2 separate regions of the Homo sapiens genome follow, and region 2 is linked to region 1. The links are contacts of gene promoters, found by promoter capture Hi-C in human tissues and cell types (Jung and others, 2019). All regions are on one chromosome and are shown on one strand. Each heading gives the region's core, a stretch centred on a gene start or on the middle of the fragment in contact. The rest is flanking DNA. Distances are from core to core; before and after follow the strand shown.

Evidence for each region. The method cuts DNA at HindIII sites, captures the fragments that hold promoters and counts their contacts. A contact is called where the count stands out against the background at its distance.
Region 2: a fragment that was not itself captured here is called in contact with the fragment with the promoter of FRRS1L in region 1 in 2 of the 25 tissues and cell types used here (adrenal gland and dorsolateral prefrontal cortex).

Annotation. Positions count from the first base shown.
Region 1 is chr9:109,165,869-109,168,568 of GRCh38, forward strand. It overlaps FRRS1L (ferric chelate reductase 1 like), which reads right to left and starts at 1,381. Exons shown (of 5, transcript NM_014334.4): 1 at 1,033-1,381. The coding sequence starts at 1,270. The HindIII fragment of the contact is 7,141 bases long and covers 1-2,387 here.
Region 2 is chr9:109,243,326-109,246,025 of GRCh38, forward strand. EPB41L4B (erythrocyte membrane protein band 4.1 like 4B) reads right to left here. Exons shown (of 26, transcript NM_019114.5): 15 at 293-357. Among named protein-coding and RNA genes, the nearest start is that of EPB41L4B, 76 kb to the right of the region's middle. The HindIII fragment of the contact is 6,336 bases long and covers 1-2,700 here.

The DNA.
Region 1 (2,700 bases), core at 131-2,630:
AGTTACATGCTAAGAATTGTGAAGAAACAGAAGGGCAGGATCCAGAGACACTGGTGACCAAGGAGCCTCCAGACCAGTTCTGGATTACCTATTTCTAGTTTTCTTTCTGTAAGAGAGAAACTTCTATCTTGTTGAAGCTATTAATGTTTGCTTGTTGTATACAGCTGAACTTAATCCTAACAACAGACACATCCACTAACAGATATGAGCTCCTGGGACTCAACACTTCAAACCCCAGCTTGATGGTTGGATATCCCTCTTAGCAGAAGAAAAGGAAAGTCACTACTTCCCAAAGTTGCTTAAAGAGGCCAGTTTCCATTCCTTCTGACCACCATCCGCTTGGCTTTTGTGCTCGTTGAAGCAGCTCTACAGGGAGGCCCTTGGCTGACAAACTCCCAGTCTGCGGGCCCAGCAGGCCACAACAATGGTGGCTCGCACTAGGGGACCATAACATATGTGGCGTCATAAAAGAGGAGGGATGGGAGTGGGGAGGCTGATGTGACCCAGCTCTGACGGGTCAGTGAGCAGGAACAGAATGCTACGAGGTGGGCGCTGGTCACTGCAAATTTAAGTCAATACAGACAGGGAGGAAATAAGGCAACCTCTCTCTTTAGGTTGGGGTTTTTCTGCTTCCCCCTAGCTGCCCTGGCCAGATGGCGGCCTCCTCCCCTATAACCCAACCCCAGGCGGCAAAGGTGGAAGCCAGATCTAAGAACTGGGGGAGCTTAGACTCAGCACCCACCCCTATCCACAGCCTTGCAGAACTTGGATGACCCCTCCCTCTCCCAGCCTCACTCTCCCCATCTGTAAAGCGGGCGGCAGGCATTGACAGCTCTTTGGGCCTTTCCTCCAGGCCGGCGGAGGCCTGGGCACTGCGCTCCCCATCCTGGCCTCGCCTCTGCAAGAGCTGCCTCCACGGACATCTTTTCCGACCCCCTCCCCCTCCCTCGCCCCCTCTCCTCGTTCCCCCGATCCTCGGTCCCCCACCCCCGGTCTCCCCTCCCGCAACCCCTCGCCCTCCCGCAGCCTCACCCTCCTCCGACAGGTAGCGCAGGTCGTAGAACTCCCCCGCGAAGGTGCCGTAGGAGGAGTCGTGGCGCGGCACCGCCTCGTCGGCGCCCGTGTCCCCCCGCGCGCGTCCCCGGGGTCCCCGGCCCCCCGGGCCCGCACCGTCGTCCGCGGGGCTGGCTGCGCAGGCGGCGGGCCCCGTCAGTAGCAGCAGGAGCAGCGACGCCCAGACCCCCGGGTGCTGCCGGGGCGGCCGCGCCATCCGTGCGCACAGATCCCGCAGCCAGGCCGCTCGGGCCGCAGCGGGGGCGCCGCGGGCGCGGGCCGGGACTGAGCCTCCGCCGAGGCCACCAGCACGCGCCCGCGCAGCCGCGGAGCCTCCCGCACCCCCGCCTCCCTGCCTCGGTCTGCGCATCCTCGCTCCAGCACCGCAGCCTCCCCCTTCTTCTTGGAACCCCCCTCCTCCCCGCACCGATCTCTCCTTCCTAGCAGCTTCCCTTCTACCGTCCTTCTTTCCATTCTCCCCATCTCCCCGACTTCCCTCCACGCAGGCAGATTTGGCCCTTCTGGCCCCTTGCTACTCCGGAGTGTGGTCCGCGGACCGGCAGCATCAGCATCACCTGGAAGCTTGTTAGCATCGCTGAGGCCCCACTCCAGACCCATGAAGCGGGATGTTCATTTCATCAAAATTCCCAGGAGATCCCAATGCACGTTCAATTTATGAAACGCTCCTCTAGAGAGTTTACCCTGGACACACCTGGTCAGTGCTGCCTCCTCAACCTTGTGCCGGCACTTTTTGGTTTACATAAAGCACTTGCTAGACCTATTATTTCTTGGATCATCACAGAAGGAACTTGAAATTGCAAGACCCCCACAATAGAGCTAGGTAAACTGAGGTGTTTAGAGACAGAGAAAACTGGATTCACCTGCTTCCTCTCCAGGCTCTTGCGGTGTGTAATCAACAGAGGCTGGTGCCAGTAGGTAACCTGTTCCCCTTCAAAACTAGGCTTCTGGTTTACTCTCTTTCCCTGCAGCAAGCACGCGCAGGCCTTGGAAGGCCCACACCGTATCTGAGGGCCATGCTGAATTGTTGATTTTTCTCAAATCCATTCCTGCTGCTTGCAGTTCACTTTTGGCTATTTACTCAGCCATCCATTGATTCACACCAAGCATTTGCTTTATGGCAGGTCCCAGGGTTCTCTTTTGATGATGGTTGTTGGGGTGATATATTCGAATTGCTAAGCTGTTTTCCATCAGAGAGGCGGACGCAATTCCTTTCAGGCTGGTGTTGCAGAGCCAGCATTTTAACCTGCTTTTCCTATTTTATTATTTTATTTTATTGCATAAACAAAATAATTATGGAGGCAGAAAAGCATAGAGGTCCCAAATGCAGACCTAGAAGTCAGACTGCCTGATCTCTCATGATTAGTCATTGACATGATGCAATGAAGATTAGGGAAGATCATAGAGGTAAGGATCAATAGGGTTCAGTGCTGTAAGTGGCATGCACACATGTACACAATATTGTGAAATGTTAATATTCAAAAGGAAACTAGTGATCTTAACCCTTTATGGCCTGATTGGCTGAGAGATAAGGGTAGTGCTGTTGAAACAGGGGAGACATGATGGGGGACTTAGAAGTCAGGTATTTTCTATTAGGTATCAGCTAACAGTGGGCTGTCCAACTGGAAT
Region 2 (2,700 bases), core at 52-2,551, 77 kb after region 1:
CTTAGAAATTTTCAGTAACATCTTGAACACAAAACTAAAAACCAAGAATATATGAGATCAGAATGATTTTAAAAAATCAATTCATTTTTTATTTCACAAAGCATACCTTTGATACATCCACACACATCACTGGCTACCTTTGCTTTGAAAATTTATTCATCTCGGCCATGACAATGCATCCCTTAAGGGTTATTTCTGATGCAGACTTTCTACTCCTAACTAAGCAGAATCTGAACTTTTCTAGAGAAAGGAAAGCTTTCGAAGGTGCAGCTCTGGAAGCACCAGCACTTACCTGACATTTGGAGAGTGAGGATGCCACCGGGGCTGGCTGGGATGGATATTAGGATGATATTGAGGCTAGAAATAAAACACCAAACTTGATTATTTGATGACCTTTTAATTTCAATGGTCCTCATTCGCTTTGTCTGTTCCTGGCATCCACCCGAGGGGCTGGGGGACTAAGAATGGAAAGGCTATAGACCCTGGCTAGGGGGTGGATGTTTCCCAGGACGATCACGTTTCCCCCTCTGACAAAGGCTGGGGGCTGGCACCCAGTGCCGGTTCTTGCCCTCTCCAGAGGCGGCTCCCTGTGAAGGGGCTGGGAAGCTGCCCTTAGAAGGTGACAACACCGGCCTTGAAGGGGGTCGTCCGGAGTACCAGAGACAAGCTGTATTCATCTTCCCAAGGGAAGAGGCGGAAGGTGTCAGAGAGATGGGGAGAGTGGGAGGCAACTTCTCTCTTCAGAAACAATTTTTGTCATTGCTGAAAATGACAATGACCATGTGGAACAGTTACATCTGCACACAGACAAGGACTGGACAGGGATGCTAAGTGAAGCAGCAGGGCCGTGGGTGAAGGTTTTTTCTTTCTCTCTGGTTTATGCAATAAAAATAATCTTCTAAAATGCAATCCAAAACAAAATACCAAAACAAACAAAACCATCCAGAGCGCTTATCATCCTGATAAAACAGGAGGGAGGGAGAGAGTTTGAGAAGAAGGGATGAGGGGAGGGAGGGAAGGAAGGCAGGTAGGGAAAGAGAGAAGAAAGAAAAAGAAGGGAAGGGAAGGAAGAAAGAGAAAGAAGAGAAGGAAGGAGGTTGAAGGTTGTCTTTTTTTTTTTTTTTTTTTTTTTTTTTTTTTTACAGAGTCTCACTCTGTCACCCAGGCTGGAGTGCAATGGCAGTATCTTGGCAACCTCTACCTCCTGGGTTCAAGCGATTCTCCTGCCTCAGTCTCCTGGGTAGCTGGGATTACAGGCACGTGCCACCACACCCCGCTAATTTTGAAGGAAGTTGTCCATTTTAAGAAGAGAACACAGACCCTGTACTCACAAACGGACTGAGGTGCAGCCCTAGCCGGCTAGGTAGCAGCCTGCCTTTCCACTTCTGGCCTGCAGAGGGCAGTGGTCCTAGACATCAGCAGAAGTCAGGGGCTTCTCAAGGCTCAATCTCCTAAGGGGCAAATTAGGCCCTCCTGACATTTAAGTCACTACAGTCTTGCCACTGTTACTCTTTTAATTATTTCTTCCCCTCCTTCTCAGGATACTTTGCTTAGTAAGCAGTGGCCTGCTCTCTGGCACAGAGAATCTCAGCAGTTCTGTTCGTTCCATTTTCATGGACCTGAGATGCCCTCCCTGCCTGTTCTGTATTCAAGCAGCCTTTCCTTTCTCCTTCAAAGACGCCTGTCAGCAAGCAGACTCTGCAGCCCCCGGAAGGACATGCTGCAGGAAAAGGAATCTGGAGAAAATACCTCAGTAGCAGGATCTGGGAGCTGACCAGGGCTTTAGCATCTCCCTGCTGCAATCTCTGCATATTTCTCCTTTAGGGGCTACAGAAACCCACAGAGTTTAGATGATTTGCCCAGAGTCTAACTGTTCCAGGTGTTTTGATCACATAGACAGGCCCAGAATGAGGTTCCATTCATTGGCTGTTCAACAATAGAGAAAGGCTGACCTAGAACTGGACCCTCTATGTTTTCCTCTGGCTTTAAACACAACCAAATCAGATTCATCAGAGAGAGAGGTGGGAACCTTAGCCACAGACCTGGAAAAAGATTTTGGAAACTTCCTTGGTCTCCTCTGGCAATTTATTCACATTCTCAACTGTCAAGGAGTATTTTAGTGTTAACCCAGCTGGTTCTCAACTGGTACACTCATATCCCTTGGAGGACAATGGGAAATGACTGTGTGCATGTTTGCTTGTCATAGTAAGAGAGAAAAGGGAAGCTAATCATCCTGCAATTCCAGGGACAGTCCCAAACAATGAAGAACTCTCCCTCCCCAAATGCCAACAGCGTCCTCATTGAGAACACAGAGATCCATCCTTTGCAGCTGGCTGACCTTGCAGTGCTTGAAATAAGATAAATGCTGCAACACCATCCTCTCAAATACCCTTCACGGTATTCACATGCCAATCAGGCCACTTCTCAGGACGTTCTCTTCCCGGTCAATTTATTCCCAACCCTTGATAGAACACAAGACCTCTAAGATTGGCAAGGTCCAAAGGACCCGTGGTTGCCAATGATGTTGCGATAACAATGCCTAGATGAGTTTCAGTAGATCTGATTTCAACAATCGCCTCATGTTCACTCTAAGCAGAAAACGCACAGTGAGAACACACTACAGGCTATGCGGAGAGGGCACAGGCAGTGCTCAGCTGCTTTGCTTTTCTAAAATTTTTCTCTCCTTCAAGCACTGATCAC